Regions from separate parts of the Homo sapiens genome. Here regions 1, 2, 3 and 4 are each linked to region 5. The links are contacts of gene promoters, found by promoter capture Hi-C in blood cells and fetal thymus (Javierre and others, 2016). All regions are on one chromosome and are shown on one strand. Each heading gives the region's core, a stretch centred on a gene start or on the middle of the fragment in contact. The rest is flanking DNA. Distances are from core to core; before and after follow the strand shown. Region 1 overlaps SCGB2B2 (secretoglobin family 2B member 2). Region 2 holds the start of ZNF792 (zinc finger protein 792). Region 3 overlaps SCGB2B2 (secretoglobin family 2B member 2). Region 4 overlaps SCGB2B2 (secretoglobin family 2B member 2). Region 5 holds the start of LINC01801 (long intergenic non-protein coding RNA 1801).

The links. The method cuts DNA at HindIII sites, captures the fragments that hold promoters and counts their contacts. A CHiCAGO score of 5 or more calls a contact.
Region 1: a fragment that was not itself captured here is called in contact with the fragment with the promoter of LINC01801 in region 5 in 3 of 17 cell types (megakaryocytes, erythroblasts and M1 macrophages); the score reaches 8.0 in megakaryocytes.
Region 2: a contact is called between the fragment with the promoter of ZNF792 here and the fragment with the promoter of LINC01801 in region 5, in 13 of 17 cell types (naive CD8 T cells, total CD4 T cells, non-activated CD4 T cells and 10 more). The highest score is 22.5, in naive CD8 T cells.
Region 3: a fragment that was not itself captured here is called in contact with the fragment with the promoter of LINC01801 in region 5 in 1 of 17 cell types (M1 macrophages); the score reaches 6.2 in M1 macrophages.
Region 4: a contact is called between a fragment that was not itself captured here and the fragment with the promoter of LINC01801 in region 5, in 1 of 17 cell types (M2 macrophages). The highest score is 5.3, in M2 macrophages.

The regions. Positions count from the first base shown.
Region 1 is chr19:34,638,891-34,641,868 of GRCh38, forward strand. The region is part of intron 1 of SCGB2B2 (secretoglobin family 2B member 2); the gene reads right to left. It also overlaps the pseudogene ZNF807P and the pseudogene SCGB1B2P. Among named protein-coding and RNA genes, the nearest start is that of SCGB2B2, 37 kb to the right of the region's middle. The HindIII fragment of the contact is 225 bases long and covers 1,617-1,841 here.
Region 2 is chr19:34,962,887-34,965,648 of GRCh38, forward strand. ZNF792 (zinc finger protein 792) reads right to left here and starts at 1,343. Exons shown (of 4, transcript NM_175872.5): 1 at 744-1,343. The coding sequence starts at 776. It overlaps LOC124904699 (a long non-coding RNA gene), which reads left to right and starts at 540. Exons shown (of 2, transcript XR_007067236.1): 1 at 540-787. RefSeq lists silencers at 685-734, 845-1,104. The HindIII fragment of the contact is 6,406 bases long and covers 479-2,762 here.
Region 3 is chr19:34,660,351-34,663,218 of GRCh38, forward strand. The region is part of intron 1 of SCGB2B2 (secretoglobin family 2B member 2); the gene reads right to left. It also overlaps the pseudogene ZNF807P and the pseudogene SCGB1B2P. Among named protein-coding and RNA genes, the nearest start is that of SCGB2B2, 15 kb to the right of the region's middle. The HindIII fragment of the contact is 170 bases long and covers 1,202-1,371 here.
Region 4 is chr19:34,620,043-34,622,742 of GRCh38, forward strand. The region is part of intron 1 of SCGB2B2 (secretoglobin family 2B member 2); the gene reads right to left. It also overlaps the pseudogene ZNF807P and the pseudogene SCGB1B2P. Among named protein-coding and RNA genes, the nearest start is that of SCGB2B2, 56 kb to the right of the region's middle. The HindIII fragment of the contact is 2,831 bases long and covers 1-2,671 here.
Region 5 is chr19:34,831,438-34,834,187 of GRCh38, forward strand. It overlaps LINC01801 (long intergenic non-protein coding RNA 1801), which reads right to left and starts at 1,432. Exons shown (of 6, transcript NR_033982.1): 1 at 1,288-1,432; 2 at 893-1,099. The HindIII fragment of the contact is 2,823 bases long and covers 1-1,759 here.

The sequences.
Region 1 (2,978 bases), core at 479-2,978, 190 kb before region 5:
CCACCCAAATTGCAGTAAAACTTCAGGGTTGCAAACCTTAGATCTACATCACACAATTCAAAGGGACCTCTGCAGACTCTTGAAGTTTTTCTCCAGAAGCAGACAGCATCTTACATATGTACAGCTCTCCTAAGACCATGGGCCAAGACTTACCTCCATCCTGAAAGCCGTATCCTTTTACTTTTTTTCCCCTAATTTTCTTCTGCCCCAATTATTTCCTTTTCCTTACAGGAAAATCCATGGGACCATAATCTGTGGATAGCTTTACCTAAGGCTTATTCTGTAGCAAAAAACTTGAGTAATCCTTGGGCTTGTGGGTTAATGCCAAAAACTCAAGAAGCAATTTCACAAATGCCAATGCCTCCCTGTGTTCCCAATTCACCCTGACGCTCCAAAGGAAGAACAGAAAGCTATCTTGATATTCTAGACATCACTACCACTTGTTTTCCTACACTTGCTGGAAACAATATCCTAACCTTTCCAATTAGTAACCTAATCACTACCAAATATAGAAAACACATTCGAGTGATGCCTGCAAAAGATGTATTATGCTTCCAGGCATCACATACTCAAGATCTGGGGACTATGTATGCAGGCTATTCGTGCATAGTATCATAAGTAATTGCTATATAATGTCACCAGAACAAATCCAGTAGGGTCCTTCTTCATGTGGTTATACACCTTAACAGCATGCTGTAAAGGGACCACAAAGAATTTTCCCACTGAACTTTGTTCAGGAGCCATCAGGCTTACAGGTCAAATTTAACTTACTTCTGCTCAAACACCACCAGGAGGCGCTCTTTTCCAATGCTTGAGGACCTATCTTGGGTCCGCAGAGAATTTGCTTACCCTTTCTTCCTCTTCACTGGTTTAGATCTTGCTCTTTGATGGGTCTCACTCCTGCCTTTTGAATAGCTTCCTCTGACAGTTCCCATAATACCTTCCATAATCAGAGGCCAAAACAGTAAACAAAATGATCATCGGCCTTGAAAGAGACTAAGATAAGCTAGTTTCTACTGAGGAAAGGTTCCAGTGGGGTTCCTGAGGGCTTGCTCTTGGTGGTAGTAGGGTGCTGGTAGTGTGGAATTCAGAACAGATCCATAAATTGGGGAAAATCTTGGACTTTATGGCCAACCAAACCTTCCAGTGGTTCAGTAGAAGCCACCCTCCAAAAGGTAGATGATAACCTATGCATCTAACAAAACACTTAATAGAATATCATGCAGCTTAATTTATTTGAGATAAGGTCTTGCTGTGTCACCCAGGTGGGAATACAGTGGGGCTCACTGCAGCCTCGACCTCCTGGACTCAAGGGATCCCCCCACCTCAGCCTCCTGAGTATCTGGGATCACAGGTGTGCACCAGACCTGGCTAATTTTTAATTTCTCTTTTTTTTTTTAAATAGAGACAGGGTCTCCCTATGTTGCCCAGGCTGGTCTCAAACTCCTGGGCTCAAGTGATCCTCTCATCTTGGCCTCCCAAAGTACTGGGATTACAGGTGTGAGCCCCTGCACCCAGCCTCATGCAGCTTTACATCATTTTGATCATGTTGGGGACTTGTGCTGAATCAAACTGAGTGCTGTATCTACACTTCCCCTGATTTTGCTACTATGGAAAGCTTAATTTAAAAGGTGGCTATTTCTTTAGATACTTTTATCAAATACATGAAGAAAATTTCAATAGATGAAGAAAAAAAATTTTTTTTAACTCTGGTAAAATATACATAGCATGAAGTTAATCATTTTAACTATGTTAAGTGTATAGTTCAGTGGCATTAAGTACATTCACGATGTTGTGCCACCATCACCACTATCGATGTCCAAAACTTTTCATGAATGGCAAGCTTAGCTTTTCCAGGGTTTTTGAATCTTTATGTTTTTTTCTGGTGGGTCTCCAGGTTACTATGACTTACAGTACCAGGCTAATGACATAAACTGATACCTCTTTATTATTATTTTTTTCCAGATGTGAAATTATAAATGCAGGGACTTAGAGCTCATACAACTTTAAAAAGGTTGGGAAAGTGAAGTTATCACCACTTGGTTATATCTCCTAAGGAAACTAATTTGAGGTCTCCCCTTCTCAATTTTTCCTTCTTTATAGGTACTATTAATGCCCTAGCCCAGCAACCTGACTTATTATTGAATATATTCGGGGTGTGATGGTGAATACTTAATCACCATCACACCCCAAACAAAGATTATGACCAATTGGACTCAAATACTATTGAGCTGCTTATATGCCTGGACTTTGACTTGTTTGGTTTTGACTGGTTTTGTTCATAGGGCCTCCTGTGAAGGAGTACACTTTGGTCTCTTGGTATTATTTTCTGGTAGTCATCGTAATAGTCCCCCTGGTGCACTGTATCCTGTCAAATCTTAAATGTGTGTATGCAGACATCCATTGTGCACTGAATGGTCTCCCTTTGGCTAGATCAGCAAGAATACAATTATTTAACTGATCTGACATCATGACTTGTGAATTCCGTGCTGAGGCCAAGTAAGTCTAATACAATGGTGACAGACAGTGTCAATGCCCAGGGTTTTGGTCACTATGTCAAAATCCAATGGCTGACCCAAAGTGGGGAATTGGCAAATTGAACTAAATTTGGCCTGAGGCTGTCTCCATATCTTGAGTCCTCGTGGAGCTGGTTTGGAGTTTCGTTTTGGAATTTGGTAGCGGAAGGTCAAGGTCGTTTGCCAGATGGCTATAACTTCTCTTTATGCTCAAAGATCTTGACAGTATGTAAATTGGGTGATCACCTTTTCTATTTCTAGTTTTGGTTGATCTTCTGTTAGGTTTGACCAACTCTTGGCCCCTCTTATGTCGACTAAAACTCCTGCAGCTGCAGAAAGTCAAGTTCCAGCACTAGAAACAAGGACCAGTTAAGAGAAATCATTTTACCCCAAAAATATATTTCTTTGACATATTTTGAAGGGACCCTGCTAGATCTTTCCTAGTCTAGATCTAGGAAAGAT
Region 2 (2,762 bases), core at 93-2,592, 130 kb after region 5:
CCAACTTCTCAGTTCATAAAGCTGGATTCATCAAACCAAAAACCATGGATTCTTCCCTCCTCTTTCTCACCCTCCACATCGGAAAATTTGGTCAGCTTGACTTAAAAGACATCAAGTTCCCAATCACTTCCTCTACCTCCAGTCCTCACTCTGGTCCGGCCAGCCGCAGCACTGGCCTGGGCTATTCCATTAGGCTACTCCTTGGCATCCCTGCTTGCGGCTCACTCCATATTCAGTTCTCCACTGTGCATCCACAGGGAGCCTGTTAAGACCTGAGTCACAGCATCTTCCTCCTCTGCCCTAAACCTTCCATGGCTCCCAACACCCTCAGAACAGAGGCCCAGCTCTGCCGTTCTGAGCTGTCTTCAGCCCACCTGCTCTCTGGTTCCAGCAGACATAATATTAATAACACTGACCTGGGTGGGGTTCCTTGAACACTCCCAACTCAGTCTCCACACCGTGCCCCACCCCACCCCCAAGCTTTTGCGCACGCTGGTTCCTGTGCCTACAAAGCCCTTTCTCCCTCCATCCCATTACATTTCAGCAACGGAAGCCACTTTATATAAACCCTGCCCTGATTCAGGATCCTAGCTGGGAGCAACTCCCTTCCAGGGTCCCCTGACTCAAAAGCAAGGAAATGGGAAAGGCGAAAAGTCCTAGAACAAAGCCATCTTTTGCGTCTCAACACCGAGAACAGAAGCGTGGGGGGCCGACAGCGAAGGGCCTAACGTCCAAGCACTCACCTGCGCGGGGTCCCGCAGCGCCGCCGCTGCCATCGGAGTCTGTGGTCAGAGCAGGGCCCCACGGTGCGGGAAACCACGGGGCGGGGGTAGGGGGTCTCGCAGGCTGAGGCTACCACCCACCTGGCCGTGCCCCAGACGAGGTGTGACCCCGGGCTGAGGGTCGCACTCCTAGCCTCAGTCTCCCCCGTGCAAAATGCGCAAGGGGCCCGGGGCGCAGGCTCCGGGGGCGCCGAGAGCGCGCAGCTCCGCTGGGTACCCCCGTTGCAAGGGGTCACGGCTGGTGCAAAGGCGCGGAGGGGGTCCCGGCCTCACTGTCCCCCTCGCGGTCCGGGAAAGCCGGCGGGGCAGCTTCACGGGCGTAGCCCCAGCCGCCCCGCCCCCAACTCGGGGTCCCCAGCTCCTGGGGACTCAGCCTCCCCGCCGGGAAATGACCTGCGAGGCTGCAGTGCAGGAAGTTCCGGCCCCCACCGTGGCGGCCGGGAGAGTTGCCCTCTCCCGTACTGTCATTGGCCTGGCGCCAGCCGCTGGTGCACAGGCAGGGCCTGGGGATCGCGAGTTTCTGCCCAGCCTCTCGTCAGGCTGAGGGTCCAGGGCGGGAAGGAGAGCGGATCTCGTCGGGTCTCCACCGCCGCCGCCTGCAGCCCTCGGGCCTTCCCCTTAAAGGGGCCGCTCCCGAGCCTGCAGCCGCCCGCGCTAAACCCCGCCCACCCTCCGAGGTCCAGGAGGAGAGCCCCAGTGCTCTTCCTGCGCGTGTGGGCATCGGCCAGCCGCTTCACCCCTAAGGGACCTAAATTCACACTGGAAAATGGGGATAGTACCCAATGGGCGGGGTCTTTGCGTTGTAATATTAAATGTCGCTCTGATTCAGGGCTTCTCAAACCAGCAACATCAGCATCACCTGGGGACTGGCTGAAAATGCAGGTTCTGGGGCAACAACTTAAATCTAAGGACTCAGAAATTCTGGGGATGGGATTCAGCCTTCTCTACTTTTTGCGGGGGGGGCGGGGGGGATGGGTCTCGTTCTGTTGTCCAGGCTGGAGTGCAGTGGCCTGATCATAGCTCACTGCAGCCTCCATCTCGGGCTCAAGCTATCCTCCTGCCTCAGCCTACCAGGTAGATGGGATACAGGCGTGCACCATCATACACAGCTAATTTTAAAATTTTTTGTAGAGACTGGATCTCCCTGTGATGCCTAGGCTGGTCTCAAACTCCTGAGCTCAAGTGATCCTCTCACCTCGGCCTCCCAAAGTGTTGGGAATTGCAGGAGTGAGCCATGGTGCCAGGCCTCCTTCTCTGTTTTAACAAGCCCTCTGGGGACTCCAATGCTGGCTCCAACTTTACAGCAGGGACTCTCATTGAAATCCAGTAAATAAAATGGGAAAAATAACACTACATTGTTGCAGGAAGTCAGGGACCCCGAACGGAGGGACCTGCTGAAGCCGTGACAGAAGAACATTAATTGTGAAGATTTCATGGACATTTATTAGTTCCCCAAATTAATACTTTTATAATTTCTTATGCCTGTCTTTACTGCAATCTCTGAACATAAATTGTGAAGATTTCATGGACATGTATCGCTTCCCCAATCAATACTCTTGTGATTTCCTATGCCTGACTTTACTTTAATCTCTTAATCCTGTCATCTTCGTAAGCTGAGGATGTATGTCATCTCAGGACCCTGTGATGATTGCGTTAACTGCACAGATTGTTTGTAGGGCATGTGTGTTTGAACAATATGAAATCTGGGCACCTTAAGAACAGGATAACAGCGATTTTCAGGGAACAAGGGAGATAACCTTAAAGTCTGGCTGCCTGTGGGACGGGCAGGACAGAGCCATATTTCTCCTATTACCAAAAACGGGTAAGAGAAATATCGCTGAATTCTTTCCCCAGTAAGGAATATTAATAATTAACAGCCCTGGGAAAATAATGCATTCCCAGGGCAGTGCCTCTAAAATGGCTGCCCTGGGAGTGTCTGCCTTATGCACATGTAGATAGGGATGAAACACACCCTAGTCT
Region 3 (2,868 bases), core at 37-2,536, 170 kb before region 5:
TACAGAATTGGAGAAAATTTTCGTAATCTACCCATCTGACAAAGGGCTAATATCCAGAATCTACAAAGAACTTAAACAAATTTACAAGAAAAAAGCAAACAACCCCATCAAAAAGTGGGCAAAGGATATGACCAGACACTTCTCAAAAGAAGACATTTATGCAGCCAACAGATATATGAAAAAATGCTCATCATCACTGGTCATCAGAGAAATGCAAATCAAAACCACAGTGAGATACCAGTTAGAATGGCGATCATTAAAAATCAGGAAACAACAGATGTTGGAGAGGATGTGGAGAAATAGGAATGCTTTTACATTGTTGGTTGAAGAGTAAATTAGTTCAACCATTGTGGAAGACAGTGTGGCGATTCCTCAAGGATCTAGAACTAGAAATACCATTTGACCCAGCGATCCCTTTACTGGGTATATACCCAAAGAATTATAAATCACTCTACTATAAAGACACATGTACACATATGTTTATTGCAGCACTATTCACAATAGCAAAGACTTGGAACCAACCCAAATGTCCATCAATGATAGAATGGATTAAGAAAATGTGGCACATATACACCATGGAATACTATGCAGCCATAAGAATGGATGAGTGCATGTCCTTTGCAGGGACATGGATGAAGCTGGAAACCATCATTCTCAGCAAATTATCACAAGGACAGAAAGCCAAACACCACATATTCTCACTCATAGGTGGGAGTTGAACAATGAGAACACATGGACACAGGGCAGGGAATATCACATGTCGGGGCCTGTCGGGGGTGGGGGGCTGGGGTAGGGATACCATTAGGAGAAATACTTAATGTAGGCGATGAGTTGATGGGTGCAGTAAACCAACATGGCACATGTATACCTATGTAACAAACCTGCATGTTATGCACATGTACCCTAGAACTCAAAGTATAATAAAAAAATAAATAAATAAACGTGCAATGACATTAAAAAAAAGAAATACATATGTAAAAAATTATTGTGATAAAATAAGGGAGACCAAAATAAATGGCAACATGTACCAGTGTTATGGAGAGGAATATTCAATATTATCAAAATTTCAGTTCTCTCCAAATTGAATTCAAAAAGCTGTTTCTAAACATCTGGCACTGTAGAGGGCCAAAACCAGCAAAGACATTCTAGGAACAAGGCCAAAGTAGAAGGACTCCCTCTGCCAGAGTCAAGAACTAAGTAAAGCTTTAGTGTGTACTCAACGCAGTGCCACACTGGCATAGAGACAGACAAAGAGACCAGCGACATGAAATAGGGAACCCAGAAGCAAACTATGTCCCTCTATGGGGCACTTGGTTGTTGACAAAAGGGACACTGAGAATAATGGAATAAGGGCCATCTTCTCTTAAACCAAGCTTGTCCAACCTGCGGCCTGCAGGCCCCATGCAGCCCAGGACAGCTTTGAATGTGGCCCAACACAAATTTGTAAACTTTTTAAAAACATTATGAGTTTTTCTGTGATTTTTTTTTTTAGCTCATTAGCTATTGTTAGTGTTAGTGTATTTTTTTTTAATTTAATTTAATTTTTTTGAGATGGAGTCTTGCTCTGTCACCAGGCTGGAGTGCAGTGGCCTGATCTCGGCTCATCGTAACCTCTGCCTCCCAGGTTCAAGCAATTCTCCTGCCTCAGCCTCCCAAGTAGCTAGGACTACATGTGTGTGCCACCACTCCAAGCTAATTTTTTTGTATTTTTAGTGGAGAGGAGCTTTCACCATGTTGGCCAGAATGGTCTTAATCTCTTGATCTCGTAATCCACCTGCCTTGGCCTCCCAAAGTGCTGGGATTACAGGTGTGAGCCACCGCGCCGGGCCATGTTAGTGTATTTTATGTGTGACCCAAAACAATTCTTCTTCTTTCAGTGTGGCCCGTGGAAGCCAAAAGATTACACAACCCTGTCCTAAACTGGGACAGCAGGGAATCTATATAATTAAAAAGAAAGGGAGTTCTTACCCACACTTCACGTAAAAGTCCATTCCATGTACTTTAGAGACCTCAATGGGCAATCCAAAACAATAAAGACTTTACAAATCTTTATGTAGAAGAATATCTTTATGACCATGACATGAGAATCTTTTTTCCAAAGGAATAAAACCATATTAAAAATAACAATAAAGAGATAAAAATGTTTTTTAAACAACACACACACACACACACACACACAACATGAAGCATAAAGTATAACATTGATAAATTTAATTATATTAAACTTTAAACTTCTGCTCATTAAAAACCATAAGGAAAATACAAAGCTGATCCACAGTGTTGGGGAACACATTTCCCACAAATAACCAAACAAGGGCTCTTATCAAGAAAATATAAAGAACTCCTTTAGCACATTGGGAGGCCAAGGCACAGGAGTTCAAGACCAGCCTGGGCAACATGGTGAAATCCGTCTCTACTGAAAATACAAAAATTAGCCAGGCACAGTGGTATGTGCCTGTAGTTCCAGCTACTCAGGAGGCTGAAACAGGAGGATCGCTTGAGCTCAGGAGGTTGAGGCTGCAGTGAACCGAGATCATGCCACTGTACTTTAGCCTGGGCGGCTGAGAGAGACCCTGTCTCCAAAAAAACAAACAAACAAACAAACAAACAAAAAAAAACAATAAAAGTGCGGAAAAAGCCTTCTACTCACATTTCACTAAATGACTGATAAACATATGAAGAGGCCTCAACCTCATTACACCACAAAATGCAAATGGAAACCCAATGAGATGCCGACGCCCCTGACACCTGCCTACCAGATGGTTCACACGACACTGACAATGCCACCTTGTGGCGATCTAGAGCAGTAGGAAATACTACAGTGTGGCTGGGGGTGTGCATTGTACAACTGCTTCAAAGGTTTCCTGT
Region 4 (2,700 bases), core at 6-2,505, 210 kb before region 5:
CATTTTATGTAAACCCAGGAAGCAAGAAATCCTAAATTGCCTATCAGATACTAGCATTTTATAGATGAGCACCATTCTACAATTTTGGAACGTGTTCTCAATATAATAATCTTTTCTTAATTGGAAATGACCCAGGTATATACCCAAAGAATTATAAATCACTTTACTATAAAGACACATGTACACATATGTTTATTGTGGCACTATTCACAATAGCAAAGACTTGGAACCAACCCAAATGTCCATCAATGATAGACTAGATTAAGAAAATGTGGCACATATACACCATGGAATATTATGCAGCCATAAAAAAGGATGAGTTCATGTCCTTTGTAGGGACATGGATGAAGCTGGAAACCATCATTCTGAGCAAACTATTGCAAGGACAGAAAACCAAACACTGCATGTTCTCACTCATAGGTGGGAATTGAACAATGAGAACACTTGGACATAGGGTGGGGTACATCACACACCAGGGTGGGGGGAGGGGGGAGGGATTGCATTAGGAGATATACCTAATGTAAATGACAAGTTAATGGGTGCAGCACACCAACATGGAACATGTATACATATGTAACAAACCTGCACGTTGTGCACATGTACCCTAGAACTTAAAGTATATATTTTAAAAAGTCAGATGAATTTTCTGCCTAGGAAAAAGCATTTAAATTATAATTCATAGTTCCAATGAGTTGGCAGTGAAATTGGGGCCATGAGATGTTCCAGCAGCGATGGAGATGGGGCAAATCTTATAGTATTAACATCACACCATTTGGCAATAATGTCAAAAGTTACAAAAATACTTGAAATCAGTAATTATGAGAATGTATACTGGGAAAACTTTCAAAATAAATTCAATCTATATGCAAAAAAAGAGAATGTTCCAATACTTGAAATCAGTAATTATGTTTATGAGAATGTATACTGGGAAAACTTTCAAAATAAATTCAAGCTATATGCAAAAAAAAGAGAATGTTCCTATTCCTTATTTATAATCCTTAAATAGTGTTCCTATTCCTGAAAGATTAAAGTCGCATGAAGTAAAAGGCATTACAGCTTTTATTTTTCCTTCAAAAAATATTTTATCTAAGTGCTTATTTTTAAAGCCAGTTAATTATAACTTTTTTTGTATAACCATTACACACATAACATATATATGACTACACAGACAGAAGAAAACCCAGCAGTTGTAAGGTTTTTTTGTTCGTCAATTTTCTAATTGGATTATTGGCCTCAGGGTGGAGCTCTTTAAGAACAGGGCTAGGAAAGCATACAGTTTCTAGGGCCTAATAAACAGGCATACCTGAAAGGCAAAAAGAGATTTTGAGTGGGTTATATTCACCTCTAATTCTTGGGGTTTCATGAGGAAAAGAGAGATGTCTCACAAAATGGAATCCTTGGCATTTTTTTTTTTTCCCCAAGGAGTCCCAGGCCATCAGAAGCTATCTAGGGCCTTTCATACATGCACTGACTGGCAAGACAAAGTGGAGAAAAGTAATTTAGTCAACTGAGAAAAAAAAAAACCTTTTCAGAAAAACAAGATCCAAGGAGAGAAAAACATAAAAATCTTTTAAATATATCTATAACTTGGATATCCTCTTTTAATTAAGCTGAGCATTCTTTAAGAATATCCTTTTTCATTAATTAAAACTTTACAGGGAATATAAACAATGATTCTTATCATTCCTTTCACTGGTTTGCACAGGGACAGAGAGGCCAAAAGTCTGACTGTAAAAAAACTTTTATCCTTTTACCAGCATGTCTGGCTTCTGGGTTTTCTAGGGGAGTTTCTTTGAGGTCCTCCTTGGCTGCATAGGTTTGCATGACTGTTCAAAGCCATATTCAGGTTCTTCAGTTTCCTCTGGGAGGAAAGTGTCTGGGTTCAGGCAAGGACAGGTTTTTTTAACTGGACTGTAGATTCCTCTAACAGCAGAGCCTGATCTTTGAGGAGGTGATTATCTGTTGGCCAGGGACTTCTCTTAGAAGACAGCAGTTCTGCCGCATTATGTGGGTTATATACAGTTAAGTCATTCCTCATGGTTAACTTGGTGGCCACTGACACCAGTAAAGCCACTGCTGTAACTGCTCAGAGGCAAGCTGGCCGTACTTTAGCCATCAACTCAAGCTCCTTGCTTAGGTAACCTACTGGCTGTTGAGCTGGACCTTGAGCCTGAGTTAAAACTCCCAGGGCCATTCTCTTCCTTTTTGCTACATAGAGACTGAATGTCTTTCCTATGGGAAGACTAAGGGCTGGTGCTTTAAGCAAGGCTTGTTTTAACTGGTTAAAGCCTTTTTGAGCCCCAGGTTCCCAAGTCAGGGACTGAGTTTTAGCTGCTTGCATTTCTTTTATGAGGTGGTATAAAGGGCGAGTTATCTCACTGTACCTGGGTATTCCTAGTTTGCAAAATTCAATAATGCCTAAGAATCCCTTCAGATGTTTAAGCATTTTGGGAAGGGCAAAGAGGAAATGGGCTTAATCATTTCCTTACCTAGTGCTCTTGTTCCTTCTGACAGGACTAGATATAGGTACTTTACTGAAGTTTGAAAGAGCTGAGCCTTAAATTTTGAAACCCTATATCCCCTTTCAGCTAAAAAATTGAGGAGAGCCTCAGTGTCTTCCTGAGACTTTCTCAGTTGGGGCACAGAGGAGAATGTCATCTACATACTGCAAAGCTTCAACCTGAGGGTGAGAAAAATCAG
Region 5 (2,750 bases), core at 182-2,681:
TCACTGGCCTTACATGTAGGCTACAGGCTAAATTTGTTGGCCCATAGGCTGCAGTGCTGACCCTTGCTGCGAAATATTTCTAGGAGAAAATACTCAAGACCTAAATCTATGGAGATATATATCATCCCTGTGGCCTGGAAAAGTTAATATTGGCAAGTTGTCCATCTTGGCCAGGACCCTGAAAGATAGTCTATGTTATTGTAAGAAAGATTGGTGTCCTTGGGGGCATGGGCTTTTAAGCCAGGGTGGAATCTGCAGAAGTCTGAGGTGCCATTTCCTGTCCCTATACCTGGGAGAAAATAGCTCTCAGACAGCTGTGTGGCTTTCTGCAAAGCTCAATTAGAAGAGAAATTATCAGGCGTGGTGGCGCATGCCTGCAGTCTCAGCTACTTGGGAAGCTGAGGTGGGAGGATCTCTTGAGCCCAGGAGTTCGAGGTTGCAGTGAGCTGTGACTCCAGCCTGTGTGACAGAGTGATACGCTGTCTGGAGAAATTCATCATGGAGATATGCTGATAATTGGTGGTCCCTGCCTACATCCTCCCAGGAGACTGAGCCAGACCCGGTGTGGCCAATGGTCCACTTATAAATTGAACCATGTTAGACCTCCTAACAGTGCAAGTACTCATTACAGCTCTGACATGGTGCTAAGCACCCCAAGTATTATAAACAAGTGTAATCCATTATGCACACACGGTGAGGCTACACCAAAGTCTGGTGGTTAAATGCATGATCTGTGGAATCAGACAGCATGGGTTCAAACCCTGGCTGGGGTGAGATGGGGAACTTTCTAAGGCTTAAATGCTGTTTTACCAAATATTTTAAAAGAAGTGAAAATACACTGCCTGTTAGAAAGGGAAGTTTTGGGGTGAAGCATGTGGGCAGTTTAGAATACCTGGTGTCCACCTCAGAAACCATCACAGCCCAGATGTTATAGGTTCAGGCCTTTCCAGGGCGGGCACATAGAATGTCCTCGCCTCCAAGGTTTGGAGAGCTGCGCTATAAAGGTTCTTGCAGGCGGTGTCCTGAGCCCAGAGCTGCCTGCAGGCGGGCAGGAGTTGTGGGGGTGTTGGCATGATCTGGTGTCCTCTGTGGCGGCTGCCTGAAAAGAAGAGGCCGAGGGTTCTTTGTCCTATGTCTCTCCGAATCTTAATACCTGCCCTGCAGCAGACTCCCTGGCTGCCAGGGCACACCGGTCACCCCGGTAGACGGTGCCGCCCCGCCCTCGCCAACCCCTTATCCCAACTCCCATTTCCAGCCTTCCAGGAAGCCCGATCCCCACCCCCGCACCATGTGAGCTGCTCCTCTACTCCGCGTAGGGGAGGCTCTGCCTCCGGTGACCCCGAGGGAAAGAGCTAGAGCACCCACAGGTGCTGACTGCTGCGGCGCTGAGGACGCTGCACACCCGTTCACCGGCTGACCCAGTGCTGCTGACAACCAGCGTCCGCGGCCCCCAACCGTCGAACAGAGCGCGTGGGACCATCTGGTGCCAAACGCCTGCAACGGAGTGCAGAAGGTCACGAGGCGCTAGAGACCGGTTGGGGGCAGGCGGTTGGGCCTTGACGCTCTTTGCTGGGCGTCGTTTTTTCTTCTCGCCCCCTTCGCTCCTGTGCGCTTAGTGCACAAGCCCTGGGCTCACACACCCTTTCTCTGTCACGTGTTCCAACAGCATCTCACCTGCATCGGGCTGAACAGGAGACCTCAATTTTCTCCTCTACTCCAAGGATTCGCCGGCTCACAATTGCTCTTCATATCTTCAGCAAGCTTTGTCTGTGCCCTGCCCCTCTGTCCCCCATTGCCTACCATACCCGCTCCCACCAAGCCTGCATCACCTCGCTGTCTCTGTGCCTCTCCCCGGCCCCCTTCCAGGCCTTTCTCCCACAATTTCTGGTCTTTGCTCCTGGGTGTTCCGTCGACCCTAAGAGGCGGTGTCTGATCTGGCAGGCTCAATGCCTTTCTCTGGCGCTGTCTGCACCTCCAATATATTCAGTGACTCAGGAAGGATCCATCCTGCAGGGCCCAGATAGACTCTCCTGTTTGCCACCTGAGCAGAAAGGCACCTCTGTGAGGTCTTTGCCACCCAGTCACCCTACCAGACCCAATCAGCACGTGGGAGACGTGGATGACAGGAGGACAGAGATGGAGAGGGACCAAAAGACTACATGGGGCCTTGAAGGATGTCATAAGAACGTTGCCTTTTACTGAGAGATGGGAACCATGGAGGGTTTCAAACTGCTGAGACTGGCATGATATGACTTAGGGCTTTTTTGTTTGTTTGTTTGTTTGTTTTTTCTTTTTTGTGACGGAGTCTCAGAGTCTTCCTCTGTCATCCAGGCTGGAGTGCAGTGGTGTGATCTTGGTTCACTAGAACCTCTGTCTCCCGGGTTCAAGACATTCTCCTGCCTCAGCCTCCCGAGTAGCTGGGATTACAGGCACCCACCACCACGCCCGGCTAATTTTTGTCTTTTTAGATGTTTTATCTCAGAGAAAGAGCTTCCATGTTCTCTAACTCTTGTAAACAGGTATTCTTCAAGAAACTTTACAATATAACATTCATACACAGAAGTGTACAAATCATCTGTCTATTCCTCAATACATTTTTGCAGAATGAACAAACCTATGTAATCTAGATCAAGAAGCAAAACACAGGCACCTCAGAATCAACCTCATGCTCATTCCTAGTCACTATGCCCCTCCCAAATTTTTAACATTATAGATTAGTTTTGCCTATTTAAAAACTTTATATAAATGGA